2 separate regions of the Homo sapiens genome follow, and region 1 is linked to region 2. The links are contacts of gene promoters, found by promoter capture Hi-C in human tissues and cell types (Jung and others, 2019). All regions are on one chromosome and are shown on one strand. The core of a region is centred on a gene start or on the middle of the fragment in contact, and the rest is flanking DNA. Distances in the headings are between cores, read along the strand shown. Region 1 has its middle 6.1 kb from the start of AKAP11. Region 2 holds the start of KBTBD7 (kelch repeat and BTB domain containing 7).

Evidence for each region. Contacts are between HindIII fragments. The study calls those that stand out against the background at their distance.
Region 1: a fragment that was not itself captured here is called in contact with the fragment with the promoter of KBTBD7 in region 2 in 1 of the 25 tissues and cell types used here (dorsolateral prefrontal cortex).

Annotation. Positions count from the first base shown.
Region 1 is chr13:42,263,010-42,269,093 of GRCh38, reverse strand. No RefSeq gene overlaps it. Among named protein-coding and RNA genes, the nearest start is that of AKAP11, 6.1 kb to the left of the region's middle. The HindIII fragment of the contact is 4,008 bases long and covers 497-4,504 here.
Region 2 is chr13:41,192,797-41,198,763 of GRCh38, reverse strand. It overlaps KBTBD7 (kelch repeat and BTB domain containing 7), which reads left to right and starts at 4,195. Exons shown (of 1, transcript NM_032138.7): 1 at 4,195-5,967. The coding sequence starts at 4,507. The region is part of intron 3 of KBTBD6-DT (KBTBD6 divergent transcript); the gene reads right to left. RefSeq lists enhancers at 4,025-4,114, 4,425-4,694, 4,039-4,745, 4,746-5,453. The HindIII fragment of the contact is 7,226 bases long and covers 317-5,967 here.

The DNA of each region.
Region 1 (6,084 bases), core at 1,251-3,750, 1.1 Mb before region 2:
TTTTTGAGTGTTTACAGCCCTCATAATGATTAACTGAAACAGCTGCTTGGTACTACTAATTTAGATGAACTCTGGGCCCAACTCTCCCAATCGAACATGTATTAACAGAGCCCGAAATAAATCCTCCCAACTCACCTTAGCAAGACAGTCATTGTGCTCTCTTGTGCTAGCTACAATTATTTGCAGTACATTAATACAAAGTGAGAAAAAATTAGGATTGAGATCCAGTTCTGCTGTGTCCCCAGTTCCTGGATTCTTTTTAAAACTGTGTTTTTTAACAGTTTTACTGAGATGTAATCCATTTACCATACAATTCAGTGCTTCTGGTAGATTTACAGTTGTGCAACTGTCATCAAAATCTAATTTTAGAAGTTTTGTTCCTCCCTAAAAGAAACTCACATACTCAGTAGCAGCCAATCAACTTTATGTCTATAAAGACTTGCCTATTCTGAAGGTGGAAACCATCATTCTAAGCAAACTATCACAAGGACAGAAAACCAAACACCGCATGTTCTCACTCATAGATGGGAGTTGAACAATGAGAACACATGGACACAGGACACAAGGCGGGGAACATCGCACACCGGGGCCTGTAGGGGGTTGGGGGGCTGGGGGAGGGATAGCATTAGGAGAAATACCTAATGTAAATGACAAGTTGATGGGTGCAGCAAACCAACATGGCACATGTATACCTCTGTAACATGTTGTGCACATGTACCTTAGAACTTAAAGTATAATAAAAATAAAATAAAAAATAAAAAAGACTTGCCTATTCTGGACAGTTCATATAAATGGAGTCATACAATACATGGTCTCTTGGGTCTCACTTCGTTCATTTAGCATGTGTTAAAGGATCATCCATGTTGAAGCGTGTATCAGTACTTCATTTATTTTTTATTGCCGAATAACAGTTCCATTCTATGTATATAGCACAGTTTTATTGGCCAACTTATCAGTTGACAGACAATTCAGTTGTTTCTACTTTTTGGCTATTATGAATAATACTGCTTTGAATATTCCTATACAAATTTTGTGTGGATGTTGCTGATTCTTTTTAATACTCTAAAAAATAGAAGACGTTCTATTTATCCCATTTACAGAGTTCATATTTCTCCTCCTAGCACCGTTCCTTTGCTTCCAGGATTTGTCTTTTTTGCCTGCTGGTTGAAGTATGTGCACTCTATCTCCAGAGGGCTGCCATTTCTACTGCATCTGACCATGCCATTCCCCTGCTTACAATCCTTCAGTGGCTTCTCATGGTTTTCCTCATAATCTGCTTTTCTCCTTTGCTTTCATATCATTCTCCCTTTCAGACTGTCCCCTTTTCAGTTCCTCAAAATAGGACCAGACCCTGCCTGCCTCATCACCTTCCACAGGCTGTTTCTTCAGGATCCAATATTCTTTCTCTGTCCATCCCTGTTAACAGCTGAATGCCCAAGAATCCTTCACCTTTCAACTCTACTGTCACTTCCTCAGGAACTTTCGTCCTAACTCCCCAGACTAAGTAAATCCCCTTTACTTAGGACTCCCTACTTTTTCTTCAACGCATTTATCAACTTATAACAATTTTTATTTGTGTGGTTACCTAGTTAATGTCTGTCTCCCTCCTCCACTGAACTGTGAGATCCATGAGCAAGGGCTGTTTCTGTTTTTGCTTAGGAGTTCCTAAGGCACATAGTAGGTACTCAATAACTATTCAAAAAAAGAGAAGCGGGGAAGGAGGGTGTCTTACCAGACTATTCTTTATTCTCTTTAATTTGTATTGTCAGGAGTCCTCAGTAAAGTCCTGATAAATGCTATAAGCCAAATCTGTGCTATGTTAAGGGAAATGAATGTCAAGGCATGTCCCATGCTTGGGATGTTGCAGCAGGGAGAAAACAGGTGTCCCCTGCTCATACTCCTCACAGAAACGGGGTAGGGAGAGGAGAGACCAGTGGTGTACAAAGGAGCCAGGGCAGCAGGGTGGCAAGTCAGGGAACACAGCCTGTGTCCAAGGGCACCCAAGAGGGTGCCTGGGAACCCCTGTGTGTCTCCTAGGGACATTTTAGTGGGCCAATTTCCAGCAATCAAATTGGTGGTGTCTCCTCCACTGTAATTTTCTAAGTTAATGGAAATATTTCTTTCATTTTTAGACATACTGTAATAGAAACAAGACATTTGGGTTATAGGCACATGAAAGAATTATGACCCAGCAAGGTTGAATGATTTATTCTGGATCACATGGGGCACTAAATGGAATAGTTCAGACTAAAATTAGCTAGTTCGGTCTGGTCCTACCTTTCAACAAAACTAAGCCTAATACACAAAGCTAGCCTCTCAGCTTAATACCCTTGGTGACCTTCTGACTACAAAGGCAGGCATCATCTTTCCCCAGGAGCTTTGGAGCTTTACAGTAGCAGCCTCTGACAGCCAAGAGCAGATTCCATATCGCTTCCTGTTTGAAAACTTGAGTCTCCCTTTGGCCCACTTGCTGAATTCCTGCCTGAGTGATATTTCCTGCCTGAGTGATGGTCCCAGCTGGTGGCTCACTTGTAAAAGTGAGATGTCAAGTCCTTCTTTTCTACATTGTTCAGTTTTAGGACTTTGTTTTTTATGATTATGAATTAATACACACGTTATATAGAACATTAGAAAATACAAGAAAAAATAATGGAGCAGACCAGTTATTTGATGGTTGCTTTACATGTATTATTTAACTTATTATTATTTTGTGTTTGTTTGGAGACAGAGTCTCTGTCACCCAAACTGTAGTGCAGTGACCATAGCTCAGTGTAGTCTTGAGCTCCTAGGCTCAAGTGATCCTCCCCACTTACCTCCAGTGTAGCTAGGACTACAGGTGCGCACTACTGCATCTGGCTATTTTTTAAAATTTTTTGTAGATACAGAGTCTTGCTATGTTGCCCAGGCTGGTCTTGAACTCCTGGGCTCAAGCCTCCCAAAGAGCTGGGATTATAGGCGTGAGACACTGCATCCAGCCAAATTTGTTAATACTTAATAAACCAATGTATTAATAAAACATTCTGAAAGGGGAAAAATGTGGAAATTACAGTTTCATCAGCTGTTTAAATATGTAAAGGTGCTTTTTAAGTTCAAGAGGTGAAATACCTCTTTTATGCCTTCGGTTTGAATGCCTATATATTATATCACAGTCTACTATATACTTTATAATGTACATACTGTCAACCTTAATGAGATTCAGAAAATATGATTCAGTATGGAGTTTATTTGAGCATAAAGCTTGAGGATGACAACCTGGGAACAACAATTCCAGATGAATGGGGTCAGTATTCCAAAGTGGAGAAGTTAAGGTTTCACTTACATAGTCTCAGAGAGAGAAATTTTAGCAGGATTATCACATTTTCCACAGGAGACCAGTGTATTACAGCAATTTGATTGGTTATAGATTGCTACATTCCAAGGAAGATGACTTTATTACTCTGTGAGTAAGAGTAGTGATCTGAGAGGGTCTTATATCTGGTGCCTTTTGATCTTACTAATTATTTACAGAAAAAAAAGAGCAGAAGTTGCAACTGCATGCCGTGTGACTCAGGCTGCAGAGCCATGTTCCTCTCAAGGCACAGAATAATGTAAAGTTCCAACAGCTTTAAGTTTAAATGATTTAATTTCACAGCACTTACCTAATTCTTTTGTAGCGAGTGTCTTTATAAGGATAGAGACACATCTTAACCACTGTTAAAATTATACCTAGTGATATTTTAATACACGGTGGCACTCATTAACTGTTCAATGCTAAAATCATAGAATCCTAACTATACTAATTAGTAAATATAGTACAAATGATAATTCAGAAGTGCCAATCCAAATTAAACACTTCTTGAACAGCAAAATCAATCTGAGTCCTACTATATATTTTACTCAAATATAATGATTCTTCTGATTTAAATCATAGCTAATTACTGAATTATAATACTTCTAATATGTAAAACATAGATGTACCTTCTTTTAAGAAAATGTAATATATACTTGTCCAAAGTTCAAAAACAAGTAATTATGCCTAAATGTAACTAGTTGATAAGATAAAAGAGTTTATTTAAATATCATTGCTCTGCTGATTTTACATGACTGGTTTATAGTTAAATTAGAAGTGCAAGGTATTATAAAAAGCTTATGTTACAGACATTACAAGTTCAAAGAAGCATGAATGTTATCAAGCATTTCAAAAGCATTTAGCATAAGTAAATAATAGTTTAATTTACCATATAAAATTTATACACAACTTTTAAAAAATGTCTTTTGCAAAAAGTGAGATAGACTTCCTCTTCATGTGAGCCAATAGCATACATGCTTACTGCTTTAAAAAAGATGTTAGATGACTTCCCCTGGATTATATATCTAAAGGACAAGGTCAGCTTTTGGAATATTGTCCTAACTTTATGACAAGATAAAACAGATCTTAGAACAAGTTATTTCTGGGTCTGTCATTCCTGTTGCTTAGCTGCTTTGCTTGAAAAATGAAACATTAATTCAAAGTGTCAGTCAGAGCATCCTTATTCATTAGTTAGCTCACATGAAATTTAACAGAAATATCCTTACGTGATTAGATCTTTAAAGGAGGTAATAGTCATGCATATGAAACATGAATATTATTAATACATGCTTACATACGGTACAGAAAGTCATTAAACACTGGGGTAAAAATCTAGGTTGAAAAGTGGTAGAACTTTTAAGACCCCCAAATGCCTCCTAGCCCAGGCTGTAGGAAATCCTTGCTCTATTTGCAATTTTAAGCCACTAAACTACGTTAGAGATATCCAGTCTGTCCCCTTACTAGATTTGATCCCAATTTATTTTGGATTGCCCAAAGTCATCTTGAACACATTTGTTCCCCTTCACCACAATGGAATATGTGAAATCAGCTAAGCTTCTGAAAGATAGACTAGGATTTCTTGATAGCCAATCTTCATGAACATCAAAGTAGCCAACCATTTCTGATTTATTGGTTTACTGGCCTGCAACCCTTTATGGTTAGTCCAATCTTCTTCATCGGAAGGATGCAGCTACCAAAACATGGCAAATGCAACTTTAGGCTACATGAATGCTAGTGTGATGCTCAAGACAAAAGAGGTGCTAGTCCTACTGTACTCTAACTAGTCAGTATGCACCTGCATTAGCCATAGTGAAATATGACCAGAGGTGAGGAGCCTAAGGGAATATCTCATATGTGAAACTTATCTTGTTGGTATTTAACCTGAAGAAGGGGAGACTCAGAGGGATATAGTAAACTGAGGTTGAAATGCTAATGTCTGAGAACTATCTGAGGCTTCCTCTGTCCTTCCAGAGGAAGAGGACAGATTTTTGTTCAATGTGAGGGGGAAAAATAATAATTACCATTATTTTTCAAATAGATGGGTTATCTTTATAAACAATGGGTGTCAAATTTCTTGGCACTTTTGTAATTTATTTAGAAAATTCCCTTTGTAGAGCCCAAATTTATAATTCATAAATTTATATTATAAATGTATAATTTGTCATATTCTGCTCTTTATCTCTAAACTGATTTTACCATTCTTCCTGTTTAAGTGTGTCCTTACTCACATTTGATTGTGCAGGTTAGTATCCTTATCAGTTGGTGTAATAATCTTACAATGATTTTGTTATCTTCAAACAGTATGCCTATAAGCTTACTATAATGGGTATATTAAGATTCCTACAGAGCTCTAGCTTAATAGTATAATGGCCTGTACTTTTTCTATCCTTTTTAGATGGTCAGTAGCTATTCTGAAATTGCATATAAACTCCGGATGAAAGTAATATCTGCAGTAAAATAAGGTCTGATAAAATATCATACTAATTTTCATGTATGGTTTGAGGAAACGGCATTTCTTTTCTGTGAAAGAGAAGCCAACATTTATAAGGTGCTACTTGGGTTTCAGTGTCAAACCCTATGCTCTTCGAAGTTTAATATTAGTCTATATTTTTGTAACTTTAAAAAAATTATTGTGAACACTTCTTGCTCATTTTACTCTTTATGTAATTCTAAGAATTCTCACCTAAGTTCCAGGAAGGAATAAAGTCCTCCACTGAAGTCCACTGAAATGTATACTATGCTATCTGTTTCTTGAT
Region 2 (5,967 bases), core at 2,946-5,445:
ACAGTTGACAATCACCATGACAATGATCAGAAGAAACCATAAAAGGACAAAAAGTAATGTGGCACTCTGGTTTCCGAGTTCTTCACACATGCCAAGAAAACACACGAATATTCCTCCGTTTGCTTTTTCTTTTTTGAGAAGGAGTCTTGCTCTGTTGCCCAGGCTGGAGTCCAGTGGTGTGATCTGGGCTCACTGCAACCTCTGCCTCCCAGATTCAAGTGATTCTCCTGCCTCAGCCTCCTGAGTAGCTGGGATTACAGGTGTCCGTCACCACATCCAGCTAATTTTTGTATTTTAGTAGAGACGGGGTTTCACCATGTTCCCCAGGCTGATCTGGAACTCCTGGGCTCAAGTGATCTGCCCGCCTTGGCCTCCCAAAGTGCTGGAATTACAGGTGTGAGCCACTGTGCCCAGCCCCACCCCTTGCTTTTAATACCCATCCCCTTCATTAAAGATGCCCTATATCTATGACTTCCCGGCTCTCAGAAGCTGAGAAATTGATTTGTGAGCCATGCTCCTGCTTCTCAAATCCATGGCCATGGAATAAAACCTGCACTGCTTGATGCTCACTTTCAGTTTCGCATCTTGGCTTCATGACATAGAACAGGGAAAAATCTCATCTTCACAGGACCAGCTTTGTCATTAACACTATTATGAAGATACTTATACAAGTGTTTTTGTGGATATATGTTTTCATTTCCCTGAGGCAACTGCCTGGGAGTGAAATTACACGGCGTTTAACATTAAAAGAAACTACAAAAGAATTTTCTAATGTGGTTATACCAATTTATATTCCTATTATTAGCATATGAGAGTTCCAACGGCTCCATATCTCCACTAATATATAGTATCATTGATGTTTTTAAGTTAAGGCATTCTAGTGGGTATTCAGTGTTTTCTTATTGTGAATTTAATGTGCATTGGCCACCGGGTATACATGTTACCAATATTTTTTCCCAGTCTGTGGTTTATCTTTTGTTGTTTTCACTGCCTTTCCATAGGCAGCAGCTTGTAATTTTGTTGAAATTCACTTTTGAAATTCACTTTGTCTTTTTTTTATGATCTGTGTTTTTGGTGTCCCAAGAAAACTTTGCCAACCGCAAAGCTATAGTCTTCTATGTTTTCTTTTCTTTTCTTTTTTTTTTTTTTCTGAGACGGAGTCTCGCTCTGTCGCCCAGGCTGGAGTGCAGTGGCGCAATCTTGGCTCACTGCAAGTTACGCCTCCTGGATTCATGCCATTCTCCTGCCTCAGTCTCCTGAGTAGCTGGGCCTACAGGTGTCTGCCACCATGCCCAGCTAATTTTTTGTATTTTTAGTAGAGACAGGGTTTCACCGTGTTAGCCAGGATGGTCTCAATCTCCTGACCTCATGATCCGCCTGCCTCAGCCTCCCAAAGTGCTGGGATTACAGGTGTGAGCCACTGCACCCGGCCCTATGTTTTCTTTTTGAAGCTTTATAGTTTCCACTTTTCCATTTAGTATTAGGAGAAATTTTGAATTAATTTTTTGCTTATGGTGTAAGGTAGGGGCAAGGGCAACTTTCTGTCTTACATTCTTGATCCAGTTGTTCCAATAACATTTGTTGAAAAGAATTTTCTTTCTTCATTGAATTGCATTGGTATCATGCTGTATTTCTAAAATTTTAAATTTAATTCCTCAGTTGCACTAGCCACATTTCACGTACCCAAGAGCTACATGTGGCTTCTGGCTACTGTATCAGCCAGCACAAATATAAAATATTCCCAAGTTTTATGGGACAGCACATAGCTCTAGATCTTAGGGAATAGTGCCTAATAGATATCTTCAATTGTGTGACAGGTAACCTAAACCAAATAACACAGTAAGAGCAGATATAAGGAAGGTAAAAATCAGTCACTGCCTATATGAGGTACCTAGAGTAGTCAAAAGTCATAGAGACAAAGAGTAGAATGGCAGTTGCCAGAAGTGGGGGCTAGAGAGTTATTGTTTAAATGGGTACAGAGCTTCAGTTTTGTGATAGTGGCAAAACCGTGTGAATATATTTAATGCTAAAGAACTATACACTGAAAATGTTTAAATGGTAAATTTAGTGTTATGTATATTTTACCAATATTTTAAGAAGTTTTTTAAAATGGCCATTCCTGCGCTGGGCATGTGGCTCATGCCTGTAATTGCAGCAACTCAGAGGCTCAGGCAGGAAGAGTGCTTGACACCAAGATTTCCAGACCAGGCTGGCAACACAGTGAGACCCTGTCTATAATTTTTTTTTAATTAACTGGGTGTGGTGGTATGCATCTATAGCTCTAGTTACTTGGGAGGCTGAGGGCAAAGTATTGCTTGAGCACTGGAGTTTGAGGCAGCAGTGAGCTATTATGGTGCCACTGCACTCCAACCTGGGTGACAGGGCAAGACCCCATCTCAAAAAAAAAAAAAAAAAAGAAAAAAAAAAGGCTTTTTTCCCCAGCTGGTATTCACTGCAAGTCAGGAAACAATCATTGTTACTGATAATGACTGACTTGATTCTCTCTGGTGTATCTGAGGGATATCTAACATCTCTTTTTATTTACAGAGGAGTTATTAGAGCCCAGAGGCTGACTTAATTTAATGTGTCTACCCTAGAGTATTTCCAGTGGACTTCAGCTGATAAGTTGAAGTTATCTTCAGCTGATAAGAGAAAAACAATTTGAAAGTTATTCTCTTGTAATGTGTTATCCATACATGCATGTAACACTGATGATTTTCTTTATTAGGTTATGGTAACATAACAAACTAGCAGCAGGAGCAGTCATGGTTTTGTAATAAAAGTTATCTGAAAAAGTCTGTTACTGGTGGAGGGTGTCCAGGTTCTTGGCGTTTTGGACAAAAAATTGGACAAAACACATAAACAAAGCAAGGAAACAATGAAACAACAAAAGCAGAGATTTACTGAAAATGAAAGTACACTCCACAGTGGGGAGCGGGCCTGAGCATAGGGGCTCAAGGGCCCTGTTACAGAATTTCTGAAGGTTTAAATACCCTCTAGAGGATTCCACTGGTTACTTGGTGTACACCCTATGTAAATGAAGAGAATGAAGTAAAGTTACAAACTCATTTACTCAGCATACACCCTATGGAGAGGATCTTTCCTGTTATAGCTAAAGTGTGAATCAGCCTTATGTTCCCTGCCTCCAGACCCTATTTTCCTGCCTCAAATCTCTAATACTTGATTTTGATGATTTAACTGTTGATCCCAATGCAAATATAAAAGACTTTGTAAAGCATAGACTATACTATATATTAATTCAAGGAATGTCAGGGCATGTACTGATGTTGAATTCTGAGAATCATGTGCTTTTGTACAGAACAAAGTCTGTTTGTTGAAATATTTTGAGTTAAAATACTCCCTAAAACTCCTTAATAAAGGGAATTACATAATCTGTTAATTGATTTGTGGAACGGCAGTGAAAGAGGCTGTATTAGACGACTTGAAAACACTCATATTTGGAGCTTAACGAAAATACTCCTGCTCTCCAGAGATGAAATGTTAGTGAGAGCAGCAAATAATTTATTTTTATATGCTGGATTTGCGTATTTGAGACCATCTATTAATACTGTTCTTTAGGACCTCAACCTAGTCGTCTAAGACATCCTTATTAAACGAGACCAATAGATATCATTTAATATTGAAAATATTGTTAATGCCCTTCAAAATCTTTCGAAGGAATAAACATTAAAAACTAGAAATTCTTTGTAAAATTTTGCGGTTTAAAATAATACTCGGTTTCAAATTAGTGGGTGCCTCATTTATCATAAATTATAAAAGAGAATCTAACAGTTATTGGCTACATTCTAGGCACGGGGTAACGCTTTACTATTCTTCTAACCAAAAACATACATGTATCTAAGTATCCCATGTAAGGTATCATTGAACCACACAAAACCCTATGAAATACTGGCAGGGGGCGGTGGCTCACGCCTGTAATCCCAGCACATTGAGAGGCCGAGGCAGGAGGATAATTTGAGCCCTCAGGAGTTCAAGACCAGCCTGGGCAACAGTCTCTTCACCATCAAATCCAGGAGAATTAATTTCTACTGTTAGAGCAGTCAACTAAAGGACAGCTCGCGATATTACACAAACTACTACTCCCAACATGCAAAGCGGTTTCTTTCCCTCTGTCCCCGCCCGGCCGTCCGAGAGCCCCAGCAGGCCTCGGGGCGCGAAAGGCAACCTGGGAGCAGTAGTTCTCCCGGGCGCCTAGCGGGATCGCCAGCGCGGCAGTGGGGGCTTCCGCGGCTGCAAGCCAGCGGGTCCTGTGAGGGCGAGCGGAGGCGGAGAAAGGGCGCGGGAGTGAGAGAGGGTGAGTCAGCCACTGTCTATGCAATAAAGGGAGGCCTCACCGCGGGATAGGGCTGAATTCAGAAGTGCGGCCCGTGCCGCAGTCTGTTCCAGGACGCGGCTTGTCTTAGCGTCAGCGAGGGAAGGTTGAGGAGGAGCCAGAGCCTGGTCCTGCAGCCTTTCTCGCCGTCAGCGCCCGTCGCCATCTCCACCATGCAGTCCCGGGAAGACGTCCCGCGCTCTCGCCGCCTCGCCAGTCCCCGTGGTGGGAGGCGGCCCAAGAGGATTTCCAAGCCCTCGGTTTCGGCCTTTTTCACGGGTCCAGAGGAGTTAAAGGACACGGCCCATTCTGCAGCCCTGCTGGCACAGCTCAAGTCCTTCTACGACGCGCGGCTGCTGTGTGATGTGACCATCGAGGTGGTGACGCCTGGCAGCGGGCCTGGCACGGGTCGCCTCTTTTCCTGCAATCGCAACGTGCTAGCAGCTGCGTGTCCCTACTTCAAGAGCATGTTCACAGGTGGCATGTACGAGAGCCAGCAGGCCAGCGTGACCATGCACGATGTGGACGCCGAGTCCTTCGAGGTGTTGGTCGACTACTGCTACACGGGTCGTGTGTCTCTCAGTGAGGCCAATGTGCAGCGCCTGTACGCGGCCTCCGACATGCTACAGCTGGAATATGTGCGGGAAGCCTGTGCCTCCTTCTTAGCCCGACGTCTTGACCTGACCAACTGCACCGCCATCCTCAAGTTTGCAGACGCCTTCGACCATCACAAGCTTCGATCTCAGGCCCAGTCCTACATAGCTCACAACTTCAAGCAGCTCAGCCGAATGGGTTCAATTCGGGAGGAGACTCTAGCAGATCTAACCCTGGCCCAGCTGCTGGCTGTCCTACGCCTGGATAGTCTGGACATAGAGAGTGAGCGGACTGTATGCCATGTAGCTGTGCAGTGGCTGGAGGCTGCTGCCAAAGAGCGGGGTCCCAGTGCTGCAGAAGTCTTCAAGTGCGTGCGCTGGATGCACTTCACTGAAGAAGATCAGGACTACTTAGAAGGGCTGCTGACCAAGCCCATCGTGAAGAAGTACTGCCTGGACGTTATTGAAGGGGCCCTGCAGATGCGCTATGGTGACCTGTTGTACAAGTCTCTGGTGCCAGTGCCAAACAGCAGCAGCAGCAGTAGCAGCAGCAACTCTCTTGTATCTGCAGCAGAAAATCCACCCCAGAGACTGGGTATGTGTGCCAAGGAGATGGTGATCTTCTTTGGACATCCTAGAGATCCCTTTCTCTGCTATGACCCTTACTCGGGGGACATTTACACAATGCCATCCCCTTTGACCAGCTTTGCTCACACTAAGACTGTCACCTCCTCAGCTGTCTGTGTGTCCCCAGACCATGACATCTATCTAGCTGCTCAGCCCAGGAAAGACCTCTGGGTGTATAAACCAGCTCAGAATAGTTGGCAGCAACTTGCAGATCGCTTGCTGTGTCGTGAGGGCATGGATGTGGCATATCTCAATGGCTACATCTACATTTTGGGGGGACGAGACCCTATTACTGGAGTTAAGTTGAAGGAAGTGGAATGCTACAGTGTTCAGAGAAACCAGTGGGCATTGGTGGCTCCTGTCCCTCATTCCTTCTATTCCTTTGAACTCATAGTGGTTCAGAACTATCTTTAT